Linked DNA regions of Homo sapiens: region 2 is linked to region 1. The links are contacts of gene promoters, found by promoter capture Hi-C in human tissues and cell types (Jung and others, 2019). All regions are on one chromosome and are shown on one strand. Each heading gives the region's core, a stretch centred on a gene start or on the middle of the fragment in contact. The rest is flanking DNA. Distances are from core to core; before and after follow the strand shown.

What was found. The method cuts DNA at HindIII sites, captures the fragments that hold promoters and counts their contacts. A contact is called where the count stands out against the background at its distance.
Region 2: a fragment that was not itself captured here is called in contact with the fragment with the promoter of MAP1LC3C in region 1 in 1 of the 25 tissues and cell types used here (spleen).

What each region holds. Positions count from the first base shown.
Region 1 is chr1:241,996,322-242,003,363 of GRCh38, reverse strand. MAP1LC3C (microtubule associated protein 1 light chain 3 gamma) reads left to right here and starts at 4,266. Exons shown (of 4, transcript NM_001004343.3): 1 at 4,266-4,413; 2 at 4,533-4,588; 3 at 4,744-4,850; 4 at 6,979-7,042. The coding sequence starts at 4,356. RefSeq lists an enhancer at 3,756-4,281. The HindIII fragment of the contact is 15,931 bases long and covers 1-6,446 here.
Region 2 is chr1:241,558,677-241,565,069 of GRCh38, reverse strand. It overlaps KMO (kynurenine 3-monooxygenase), which reads right to left. Exons shown (of 15, transcript NM_003679.5): 6 at 4,318-4,405; 7 at 2,738-2,903; 8 at 12-83. Among named protein-coding and RNA genes, the nearest start is that of KMO, 29 kb to the right of the region's middle. The HindIII fragment of the contact is 3,176 bases long and covers 932-4,107 here.

The DNA of each region.
Region 1 (7,042 bases), core at 3,017-5,516:
CACCTCCCAGCCACCTAGGTCTCACTCCACTGCCAGAGGAGCACCAGCCAGGAGCACGATGCCATCAGACGACACACCAGACACTGCTCCCCTCAAAAGATGGCTTTCAACCCCCAAAAAAAGAAAAGAAAAAAAAACTGGCCGGGCACCATGGCTCATGCCTGTAAACCCAGCACTTTGGGAGGCCGAGGCTGGTGGATCACCTGAGGTCGGGAGTTCAAGACCAGCCTACCAACATGGAGAAACCCCGTCTCTACTAAAAATACAAAATTAGCTGGGCGTGGTGGCGCATGCCTGTAATACCAGCTACTTGGGAGGCTGAGGCAAGTGAATCGCTTGAACCTGGAAGGCGGAGGTTGCGGTGAACCGAGATCGTGCCATTGCACTCCAGCCTGGGCAACAAGAGCAAAACTCCGTCTCCCTCCGCCCCCTCCAAAAAAAAAAAAAGAAAAGAAAAGAAAAGGAAAAAACGATCCAGCCCATTCCTCTGCCTGAAAGATGATGCATTCTGGAAGTGTTGCTGCATTTTGTTTTTTCCCAGTGCTTCATTCTATTACCTCCTTCATCTCCATTCCATCTGAGAGGCAAGCCTGCTTGGACTAGATAGCAATCTCCATGCCTCAGCCCAGAAAGTCAAACGCAAGGCAGTTAAGAAGCATCTCAAAGCCCTTATAATCATTGACCAAACACCACAGCTGGGATTGATTTTCTCCTGGCCCCAACTGAGCACTGTTTCCTTCTACCTCTGCCTTCAGCATTCAGACCTCAATGCACATAAGGATTCTTCGGATTATAAAGATTTGGGGGAACCATGGCTTGGGGAAGTGACGGGAAGATACATACACTGAGGAACAGTGGCAGGCACTATGCTAGCTGCTTTACAGAAACCAGTTCATTTAAGCCTCACATAACTATTCTGAGTTACAGATTACCATAACCATTAAAAGCCGTATTTAGTAAAGTGAAGCCATGTATCCAAGATCAGAAATTAAGGTGCATAGGTGGGAGGGCCAGGCTTGGAACCAACTTTGCCTGGTCTTAGAGTCTGGGCTGCCCCTGGAGATTGGCCAATCTGGGTTGGATCCCGGCGCAGTTTGCATTCTGGCTGAATGATCTAGACCACAGCAGTGTGAGCATCCTGCCTGCCCTTCCCACATGCAAGGCAACTGGGAAAGTTTACATGAGATTGCAGATTTGAAAGGTACTTTAGCACAGAGCACTGCACACTTGCTCCTTACTATTCACACCTGACGGGATGCCTTCTTTTTTAAGACAGAGAAAGAGGACGAGGCCACTTATCTCTTCAATGATGCCATCATTTAATCTCTTGACATCTATTTCTTATCATTGAGCTAAAGCCCCAAGAGTCAGGCCCTTCAATTCACCAGCAAATGTACTATCTCCTTCTCCTTTGTCACATTTTGTTCATTTTAATACTCTTCACTGCTGAATGACTACAGAAAATCATGGCATACACTGCTAACAATAAAGGAAATGCAAGCCTTCTGGCCATGCAGTGTCTGAAGGGCTACCTGGATGGGCGTAAGTACCAGGAAGCAACTCCTGGCCGTGGGAACTGGAAGAGCTGTGTCTTGCCCTTCCTAGCCCTTTTGAGTCCAGGCAAGGGATTAATTTCTCAGGCCCTGTGATATTGAGAAATACATGTTTAGTTTTCATTCAATTTCCTGGAATACAAGTTCTAAAAATTCTTGGAATTTTCTTTTTTGTTTGTTTCTGTTTTTTGTTTTTGAGACGAAGTCTCACTCTGTTGCCCAGGCTGGAGTGCAGTGGTGCAATCTCGGCTCACTTCAACCTCCACCTCCTGGGTTCAAGTGATTCTCCTACCTCAGGATTCTGAGTAGCTGGGATTACAGGTACCCACCACCATGCCTGGCAAATTATTGTATTTATAGTGAAGACGGGGGTTTCACCATGATGGCCAAGTGGATCTTGAACTCCTGACCTCAGGTGATCTGCCCACCTCCGCCTCCTAAAGTACTGGGATTACAGGTGTGAGCCACTGCACCTGGTGGAATCCTTGGAATTTTCAAAGTGGTAAGTGTCTTTTTTTATTTTTATTTTTTTCTGAGGTGGAGTCTCGCTCCGTTGCCCAGGCTGGAGTGCAGTGGCACAATCTCAGCTTACTGCAAGCTCCACCTCCCAGGTTCAAGCCATTCTCCTACCTCAGTCTCCCTAGTAGCTGGGATTACAGGCACCCACCACAACGCCCAGCTAATTTTTTTGTATTTTAGTAGAGACAGGGTTTCATGATGTTGGCCAAGCTGGTCTCAAACTCCTGACCTCAAGTGATCCGCCCACCTTGGTCTCCCAAAGTGCTGGGATTACAGGCATGAGCCACCATGCCCGGCAATAAGTGTCTTTTTTTAGTTCATCAGTTGACTGACGGCTAGCAGTCCCTGGGTAGCTTTGGATGGGGGCTGGTCGCCAGAAAGACAAAGGTGAGATTAGAGGGTTGGAATTTTTAGCCCCACCTCCAGCCTCTGGGGAGGGTAGAGGGGTTGAAAGTTAAATTGATTACCAGTGGCCAATGGTTTAATCAATCTTGCTTACATAATGAAGCCTCCGTAAAAACCCAAAAGGCCTAGGTTCTGCTAGCTGAACACGTGGAGGTTCCTGGAGGGTGGTATGCCCTTCCCCCATACCTCGCTATGCATCTCTTCATCTGTACCCTTTGTGATATCCTCTGTAATAAGCCGGTAAAAGTGTTTCCCTGAGTTCTGTGAGTCATTCTAGCCAATTAATGAAACCCAAGGCGGGGGCTGTGGGAAGCCTGACTTATGTCCCATAGATCAGAAGCACAGGGAAAACAAGCTAGGGGCTGGGCGCAGTGGCTCACGCATGAGATCCCAGCTCTTTGGGAGGCCAAGGCAGGAGGATCACAAGGTCAGGAGTTTCAGACCAGCCTAGCCAACATGGCGAAACCCCCTCTCTACTAAAAACACACAAATTAGCCAGGCATGGTGTCATGTGCCTGTAATCCCAGCTACTCGGGAGAAATCGCTTGAACTCAGGAGGCAGAGATTGCAGTGAGCTGAGATCGTGCCACTACATTCCAGCCTGGGCAACAGAGCAAGACTCTGTTTCAAACAAGCAAAAAAACAACAAACACAACTTGGGGCTTGCAATCGGCATTGAAAGTGGGGGACAGTCTTGTGGGACAGAGCCCTCAGCCCGATCTGATGCTGTCTCCAGGTAGACAGTGTCAGAGTTGGATTGGAGGACACCTAGCTGGTGTCCACTGTAGAAGTGATTGCTCGGTGTATGGGGAACCCCCACCCACCCACACACACACACACACATCTAGTGTCAAAAGTGATCTGTGTTGTGAGAATATAGGAGAAATGGAGTTTGGTTTCCCCTATGTATGACCAGAGACCCAGTTTCTTAACTCTAAAAGCAAGATCTTGGGGACAATTGTCCTTCCTTCCTTCTTTTATCCCAGAGAAAACTAAGTGACAGAATATACTGGAGTGTAGTACTTGGACTTCCTTGTAACAACTCTGGGTTTTTTTTGTTTTGTTTTGTTTTGTTTTGAGATGAAGTTTCGCTCTTGTTGCCGAGGCTGGAGTGCAATGGTGTGACCTGAGCTCACTACAACCTCCGCATCCTGGGTTCAAGCGATTCTCTTGCCTCAGCCTCCTGAGTAGGTGGGATTACAGGTGCCAGCCACCACGTCCGGCTAATTTTTGTATTTTTAGTAGAGATGGGGTTTCAGCATGTTGGCCAGGTGATCCACCCGCCTCGGCCTCCCACGTGCTGGGATTACAGGCGTGGGCCACTGCACCCAGTGTACAGCTCTAGGTTTTAATCCATACCGCTTCTCTTACTTGCTGTGTGCCCTCGAGCAAATCACTTCACCTTTCTTAGTATAGGTTTCCTTCTGTGATAAAGGGCATGGACCATTGTGAGAACTACACAGCACACTTCAGGCTGAGGTGGATCCAGCTTGGACCCCCCCTTGCTACTGAAGGGCAAAAACATCCCAGCACAAGGCAGTTTTACCTCTCCACAGTCCGCTGCCCAGCCAATGATTTTATTACAAACCCTAATTTCTTTTGCAAAGAAACATCTTGAACTGGTCATGAACAAAGTGGCTTTCTCTGACCAGCAAGCAGGTGGCGATTCCATTTCCATCAGAACTGACCTCCTGCTGCCCAGGGAGGGGGAGTGGGGAGAGGGGAGGGAGAGGAGAGGCCTGATGTCACTCAGCCCTACATAAGGGCCTCCTTCAGGCTCCTGCAGGCAGTTTGGAAGCAGCTGGAGGAATGAGTTAGGTTCCCGGTTGCGGGACAGTTTTTTTTTCTTTTTTAAAACAGACACAGCTACTGAGTGCAATGCCGCCTCCACAGAAAATCCCAAGCGTCAGACCCTTCAAGCAGAGGAAAAGCTTGGGTAAATTTCTTGGGGTAGCTTTCTGGGTTATCTAAAGAGAGGAGCGGATCTGGCCTTCTCTTGATCTTTGCTTCTTTTCTTGATCTTTGCTTCTTCTCTTGTGCTTGAAATATTCACAGCAATCAGACAAGAGGAAGTTGCTGGAATCCGGGCAAAGTTCCCCAACAAAATCCCGGTAAGACACCACTGGACTTCCGCTGGGGGGCGTGGGGGTGGGGTTCCGATCCTGTTCTCTGAAAAACCAAGAGCAGCCAACAGCTTCCCTCTGTCTGTTCCAAGTTCCTAACACTCACGCTGAGTCACATTCTTAAGGACTGACACTCTTGACAGGTGGTAGTGGAGCGCTACCCCAGGGAGACGTTCCTGCCCCCGCTGGACAAAACCAAGTTCCTGGTCCCGCAGGAGCTGACCATGACCCAGTTCCTCAGCATCATCCGGTAGGTGGCGCAGAGCGTGCCCCGGAGGAAGGTGCGCTGGGTGCGCCGGGGCTGTTGGGCTTTCTTCGTTTGGCAGTTTTATTTTGGGGATGGGGGCACGTCAGGGGAAGAGAGGAAAGAGATTTTTTTGAAGTCACCTTTTAGATTCACTAGTACCCTGAAAAGATGCTCTTAGAATTACTCTATTTTAAACCCCGGGCGGAGTGGCTCATGCCTGTAATCCCAGCACTCTGGGAGGCTGAGGCAGGTGGATCGCAGAGGTCAGGAGTTTGAGACCAGCCTGGCCAACGTGGTGAAACCCTGTCTCTACTAAAAATACAAAAATTAGCTAGGCGTGGTGGCGGGTGCCTGTAATCCTAGCTACTTGGGAGGCTGAGGCAGGAGAATCGCTTGAACCTGGGAGGCGGAGGTTACAGTGAGCCGAGACTGTTCCACTGCACTCCTGGGCAACAAGAGTGAAACTCTGTCTCAAAAAAAAAAAAAAAAAAAAAAGAATTACTCTATTTTAAACAGGTAAGGAGAATCCCTCAGACAACGACAACAACAAAAAAGACCTGCCAACATTTCTAAGAATTTCCTAAAGTAGTTAGTCTTGGCTCTCAAGCTAGGCCGGGAGATCCTTTCTTTCAGATCTTGTGTGAAACCGAGTCTGCGCGTCCGTTGCAGAGACCAGCACCTTTTCCAAGTGTATGTGTGCCTAGGGGTGGGGACTTCTCCCCAAAGGAAACGTTCCCTGCTCAGAACACTGAGAGAGAAAAGCATCCCCCAAACACACTCCTCCCTTGGTTAAGCCAGAGGTACAGCAAAGAACAGGCAGCTATTCTTAAAGCATAAAGGACATCACTTGACACATGGATTCAGTAAAAAATGATTTGGGAGTAAAGTAAATATACCCGATGAGTAAGTTTTCAACAGGGTTGAAAAGTGCTTGGAAGCTGCATCGCTGTTGCAGCCTGTTTTTTTGAGAACACACGATGAATGAGTGTCTTTTTATTTTGCTTTATTTAGCTCTGTCGCCTAGGCTGGAGTGCAGTGGTGTGAACCTAGTTCACTGCAGCCTTGGCCTTCTGGGCTCAGGCGATCCTCCCATCTCAGCCTCCTGAGTAGCTGGGACTACAGGAAAGCACCACCGTGCCCGGCTAATTTTAAAAATGTTCTGTAGAGATGGGGGTCTCACGATGTTGCCCAGGCCTCTTTTTATTTTGTTTTACTGAGTTAAGAGCATTCTGATTTCCTCTCTCTAGGCAAACTTACATGTTAAAGTTAGTTCAGTGTGAATGGAAGATGGCCAAGGGAGAATGAAAGTTAGGATTAGGGCCAGGCGCAGTGGCTCACACTGTAATCCCAGCACTTTGGGAAGCCAAGGCAGGGCAGATTACCTGAGGTCAGGAGTTCAAGAGCAGCCTGGCCAACATGGCAAAACCCCGTCTCTACTAAAAATACAAAAATTACCCAGGTGTGGTGTTGCGTGCCTGTCATCCCAGCTACTTGGGAGGTTGAGGCAGGGGAATCAAAAAAAAAAAGTGAAATATCAGCGAGACTGTGCATCACCTTTGTACTTCTAGGGAAATAGCTTTAATTTCTTTTCTTTTTTTTTTTTTTTTGAGACGCAGTCTTGCTCTGTCACCAGGCTGGAGTACAGTGGCGCAATTTCGGCTCACTGCAACCTCCGCCTCCTGGTTCTCCTGCCTCAGCCTCCCGAGTAGCTGGGACTACAGGTTCACGCCACCACACCCAGCTAATTTTTGTATTTTTAGTACAGACCAGGTTTCACCATGTTGGCCAGGATGGCCTCGATTTCTTGACCTCGTGAGCTGCCTGCCTCAGCTTCCCAAAGTGCTGGGATTAGAGGTGTGAGCCACTGCATCCAGCCCAATAGCTTTAATTTCATAGCAAATGGAAGTTATTTGCTTAGCATTTTTGTGTTGTCATGTTTCCTCAACCTGTTTGTGTTGTCATATTTCATCCATGGAATGGCCTCACCCTTTTGACCCAAATGGGAAGCCTTGTAGTTCCTAAATCTCAGGGAAGAAGAAGGGAGCAATTCAGTCTTCTTGAGTGTCATGAGGCTGCAGATCCCTGGGCTGTCTCGCAGGCCATACCCTCACCACCCTCCTGCCCATCCCAGGAGCCGCATGGTCCTGAGAGCCACGGAAGCCTTTTACTTGCTGGTGAACAACAAGAGCCTGGTC
Region 2 (6,393 bases), core at 1,270-3,769, 440 kb after region 1:
TTCTATACTACCATGTTAGGAAGTGCAATCATCATAAAGGTATTTCTAGGCCAAATATGCAGATAATTAGGTTCCATGGCATACTGCAGAAAAAAGAATATATGATTGATTAGTGCATTCATATAGCAAACCTATAAAACGGACTCAGCTTTATAATAGTTTCCACAGTAATTAAAACCAGTAGCATCTACACGATGATACGCACATCTATTGCTACATAAAATAGAAGTTGTCTTAGAAAACACTTTGTGTTCTGTCTTTATAAACTCAACCTTAGGTAGGTTTTTGATACCAGGTATATTTCAAGATTTCAGAATACGTGCGTGTGTGTGTATATGTAAGGAAAAAGACAGAGAGAACATCTTATGTTCTCAAATCTTGAATCATAGCTGGTATAATTATACCTGGTATATATGTACACACACATGCACATATCTAGATGTGTACATGTGTGTATATGCACACATATATAATGTATGCACATACATTATATATTTATATATATATTTTTTACTTTATCTTTTGCCTTATTTCAGAACTTATCTATACTGGACAAAAAGGTCTTACATTTAAATTTCATGAGCCAAACCAAAATTTTAGAAACAAGCTTCTTATCGTTTGTTTCCTATAACATAAATAATAGAGAAGAGTCTTATCTCTTTAGTGGGTCCTCTGTAATTACTATTAATACAATAACAGCCTGAATAAGTATTAATTGCTTGGGTAGATCAATTGACCCAAAGACCCAAGTGACGCACATTTTTGAAGGTTCCCAGGGGTATTATATACATAGAAATATGCAATCAACTTTCCAATTATTTCATATTTGTATTATTTTCTACAGATGTTTTGAGAGCACCTTCCATGTATAGCTTACAGAGTAAGAATACCAAAAAAACAGCATAGTCTTGGAGCTAACATTTTTACACTGTATCATAGTTATTTGTGTCTTAGGTGAAGGGACTGTGTCTTCCTTGTTTTTTTAGCCTCAGACTCCCAAAGAAAGCCCAACACACAGACACAGAAATGAGTACGTGCATAACTCTTGACCTTACAGTGCAGTCCAATAGGCAAGAGGAATACATATGAAAAGCAATTACTTCGCTTTAACAGTAATACTAGTGGTAGAAAGCCATTTACCCAATCTCTTGCCCCCAACTCCAACCATCAGAAGAGTGCAAGTGTCTATTTCACACATTACATGAAGAACAAAAGAAAAAAAAGACACAAAGAAAAATAGAGAAAGTCTCATAAGCTTGTTTTTGGACCATGTCAAAATGCTCCCATGTCTGAGTCACATTGCCATGCCTAAACAATGTTCTTAAAAGAGTGGAGACATTTTTTAAAACCATCAATTATTACTATTTATTATGTATACCTAGAAAATAAAGGGCTTTCTTAAATCTACTTTAGCAAGCACAGTTCTTCTTAAGTCTGGAACAATTTTTCAACAGAATTCTGTTATCCTATATCCAGAGTTATCAGATTCTGGGCCATGAGAGCAGAAGCTATCTGAAAACCAGTACAATAAGCACTAAAAAATTAGCGAATACATTTTGACCATGAGGATGAAACAGAAAGGTAATGAAATGTGAAAATATGGATTTTACTGGCTGATATTTAGTATTTAACAACACTATCCCATATTGACTAGCTGTTTTACCCTTGTCTGGATTTAAGAGGATAGATTAAATCAGCATCTTAAAAATGTATGCTTTATATGCAAATCAAGTATTTAATGTTGTTTGCATATCCATACTTATAAGCCAATATCCTTATTGTTTCTGTTAGCAATTTTTTCTTAACAAGTTCCTACACTTATTTGCTTATGACAACATGAAAACATTACATACCACTTATTTGCCTCCAGTCACATATGGTTTAACCAGGAAATGAGAAAAACACAATAGAAATCACTTTACAACAATTTTCTAGTCATTTTATTTAATAACTATTATTTGATTTAATCATGGTTATAAGAACTCTGGATTGTCAGTATACTGAAGGATTCATCATCAACCTGTTTTTTTCTCCCAAGAGAACATAGACAAACGATATTATTTAAATCCTTTATGTGTTTCCAGTAAGAGGGTTGTAACTTCTCCCTTCCCTTCCCTTCCCTTCCCGTCTCCTTCCTTCCTTCCTTCCTTCTTTCCTTCCTTCCTTCCTTCCTTCCTTCCTTCCTTCCTTCCTTCCTTCCTTCCTTCTTTCCTTCCTTCCTTCCTTCTTTCAAGACAGGATTGGGCTATGTTGCTCAGGATAGAGTGCATTGGCATGATCTCGGCTCACTGCAGCCTTGACCTCCTGGGCTCAAGCAATCCTTCCACCTCAGCCTCACGAGTAGCTGGGACCACAGGCGTGTGCCACATCCCTGGCTAATTTTTGTATTTTTTACAGAGACAGAGTCTCCCTATGTGGCCCAGGTTGGTCTTGATATCTTGGGTTCAAGCGATCCTCCTGCCTTGGCCTCCCAAATTGCTGGGATTACAGGCATGAGCCACTGTGCCCAGACTGCTCCTTTCTTTTTCACTCCAGAAAGCATATCAAACAAGGAAGGACTGAGAATCGTGCTGTTAAAAAGATACCCATGCATCCCATTTATTCTTCATTACAAAGTTCTTGTGATAGGCCTCAAAATGGATCAAGACATGCTGCTGAGAACCACTGCACTAGAATACGCATTCGCGCTCATGGAGCAAGGGTTGTGGGAAGGGGTTGAAAAAGGGCAAGGACTTACATCTCCGTTCTTAGGTGGAATAGTCAACTCCATGTACCCATGAGGAATGTACTGCTGACTGTAATCAAAGCGAGGTTTCTTCATCAGGTGAGATCTGACAGTTGAATAGGCTCCATCACATCCTACAATGAGGTCACAAGTGACATCTTTGGGAACTTTGTCAGATCTGAAAAATAGAACAAAACATCCAAAAGAAAAATATGTCTAGTGGTGAAAATGATGATGTACCTCTGGGTATGAGAAGTAGTGGCTCCATAGATAACTTAGAAAGCTCACTTTCACATGTTTGACTTGGAGCTTTGAGTTAATAGATGTAACATTTAGATGAAAACACTTGTCCCAGTCATAAGTTTGCTTATGAGAATAGCACAACACCATATTGATTAATAAAGACTTGGTAGGCCACAGAAGTGTGACAGGATTTGAGATTTCTGCATGAAGGAGGAGAATCTTGAAAACAGGGCAAGTGTTCCAAGTGTACGAATGAATGTATGAACAACCACAGGATTTTCTAAGAACAATACATTTGTCTTGAGCACAGGTATTAGAAGAAAAGCTTAAGAAAAGAATACAAGGTAGGGAGAGAAAGGAAGGGGAAAAGAAGAGAATCTTGAATGTCAAGATAAAAGATTTTAAAACATTATTCTGGCAAAAGGGAAACTGAAATTATCTATTAGGGGAATGATGTATGAAGAGTTGCAATTTAAGAAAACTTCCTTGGCAGTTTGAAGAGAAGGCCGAATGCCAAAGGGAGCAGAAAACAGGGATGAGGTGATGGCAACACATTATATTACATGTGCAGGAATGAGAGCCGGAAGTACTGTCCTGCAGCTAGAAGGAGGAAGACAGACTCTGAAGCCAGTAGAAAGTAGGATAGACTGGGGAGTGTTATAGATTTAATGGGAGAGGACAGGGGAAAGAACACATCATGAATGATTCAAATTATTCAGGCATTAGTTCTGGGGAAGTCAGGAATGGGATGTGATTTGGGAGAAGTAGGTGATCAAGGTTTTAGATATGTTTGAGATAATGGCAAGATGTTCCAGCAAGGATGTTTGATGAGAAGTTAACATAAATTGATTTGAGCTTCTATAAGGATTTAGAATGAAGAAAGAGGCTTGGACTGGAAATGTTCATCTTAGAGATGTGGTTGTTGAACCCATGAGCGTGGATCCATAGCATATCGCAAGAGTGGGATATGAGGCTTGGAACCTTAGAGGAAATAGAATCATCCAAGGAAAGGCAGAGAAATAGCACCTGGAAAGAGAACAGGAGGAGAGCAGTGGAGGGTCACGTATATTTGAGAGAGGAGAGAGTTTGAAGCACATTAGAGTCACCAGTGTGGAATACAGTACAGTAGGAAGGTGAGCAAGTGTGAGAATTAAGAATTATTGGCATTGGTGTTCAGATGGCCATCAGGGCCTATTTGCAATCTAAAATTCCTTGAATCTAGAAACTATTTGGATGATCCTTTCAATAATCTTTTAACTCTTTCAAAAGAGCCAAAGAACAAAGTTTGCAGATACAATTCTCCACTCCCAGCTTTCACCTCTGAAGTCCAAAACCTGACCCGTAGTTACCCAAGCACTGTGATCATTCCTTCCTCTGGATTACATTTCAACAGCCTGTGGTTAAAGTGCATTTTCACATTGGGGTATTTCTCAGCAGCTGAGGAAATGGAGAAAGAGGCAAACAGAAATGAAATCTCAATTCTTACTTCACTTAATCAAATTGAAATAGTAATTGTTTTCTGGGAACAGTATGGTAGAGAATTTTATTCATAACAATGTAAAAATAAGTTCACTTAAATGGTAATTTGACAACTGTTTGGTAACTATTTCAGTATAATTTGGTAGTAAAACAGATGAATAAAAATCAATTATCCTCATCTCAAAAAGAAAACATCCAACTGATTCCATTGTGCAAACTCTTGCATTGCTGTAATTATTAGCACCCTGGGAAAGAAGCAAGCATCACATATTTCAGAAGTCGCCTCTAATCCGAGGCTTTGTTGTGACTGGAAATATTCAGTCAAACTCCTTTCCTCATATTACGCATGTCTCTATATCTCTTTTTAGCTAGTTTTCTGGAATTCTGATTGAAGTTGTCACAAATAGAGATTGTTGATTTTAAATCTCTTTGAAATCAAACACTGGAATAGTTAGGGGGAAAATGAGTAAGAAGCTTTGAAACCTCTCAATAAACTGAAACAAATTATTTTCGTAATTTTCTGTTTTGCCTGCTAGCACTCTAGAGAATTGAGTGAATTTCAATTTATGAACTATTAATTATGCCCTTGTTACAACAGTAAAATGTGATTTTGTCCCTATTAATGCTCATGTATTCATCTATAAATATAGCCTATTTATTGTTCTTAAAGGTATAAATCAGAATACAGGTGTTAGAGCTGGAATAGACTTCAGAGATGATTTAGTTCAAAATCCTTCATCTTAAAAAAGGAGTAACTAAGATTCTGGAAGTAAAGGTAAAATGCCTGAGATCACACAAAGTGAAAAAATTAAGGACCAAACTCATCAAGTTGTACACATTAATTATGTACAGTTTTTATATGTCAAAAACGTAAATAAAAAGAATGTTGAATTTGAAAAAAATGGGGAAAATAAGGCAGGAGTTCTATTCCTGCCTGTACTTATCTCCTCTCTTCATCTCAATCTTGTCTTATTTTACTCTTTTTTGTTTCAGTTTGATTTGGGGTTTGAAGATTTTAACTTTCTTGCAAAATCTGAGAGACCCTAAACCAAAGAAATTCATCTATGTAGAAGAAGTAGTTTGGCAAATAACTTTGAAGTAATCAGAATTGACCTGATATACTAAGGATATATTTTAGAAACATAACATGTGTTTGTGAAAAAAACTTTTAAAAAATTATGTTTATTTTTTACATAAGTATATAGTATTTTGCATCCTAAATAATTTTTTGTAGAACGTTACTCCTGGGATATACTCCCTAAAAAAACTGTTCCATTGCCAAAGACTAGAGTAATGCTGAATACTCTGTCTTGGGCTATGCTGCCCTGGTGTCCAGCCACAGGTAGTGTTTGAGTACTTGGAGTGTGGCTATCCTAAATTGAGATGTGTTGCCTGTATGGGATTTTGGCAAATTAGAACAAGTATATATAAAAAGAATGACAGTGAATAACTTTCTGATATTGATTACATATTGAAATAATATTTTGGATATATTAGGTTAAAATATCTTTTTTTTTTTTTTGAGACAGAGTTTCACTCTTGTCGCCCAGGATGGAGTGCAATGGCATGATCTCAGCTCACTGCAGCCTCCGCCTCCAGGATTCCAGAGATTCTCCTGAGTAACTGGGATTACAGGCGCCCACCAACACGCCCAGCTAATTTTTATATTTTTAGTAGAGATAGGGTTTCACCATGTTCACCAGGCTGGTCTCCAACTCCTGGCCTCAGGTGATCCACCCCCTTCGGCCTCCCAAAGTGCTGGGATTACAGGTGTGAGCCACTGCGCCTGGCCTAGGTTAAAATATCTTATTAAACATAACACCACCTGCTGCTTTTTTTTTTTTTTAACATGGTTAGCATAAATTGGAAAAGTATACACGTGCCTGGTATTTGTGGCCACATGTTGGACTGTGCTGCTCTGGAAGATCCACAATGCAGACCAAGAA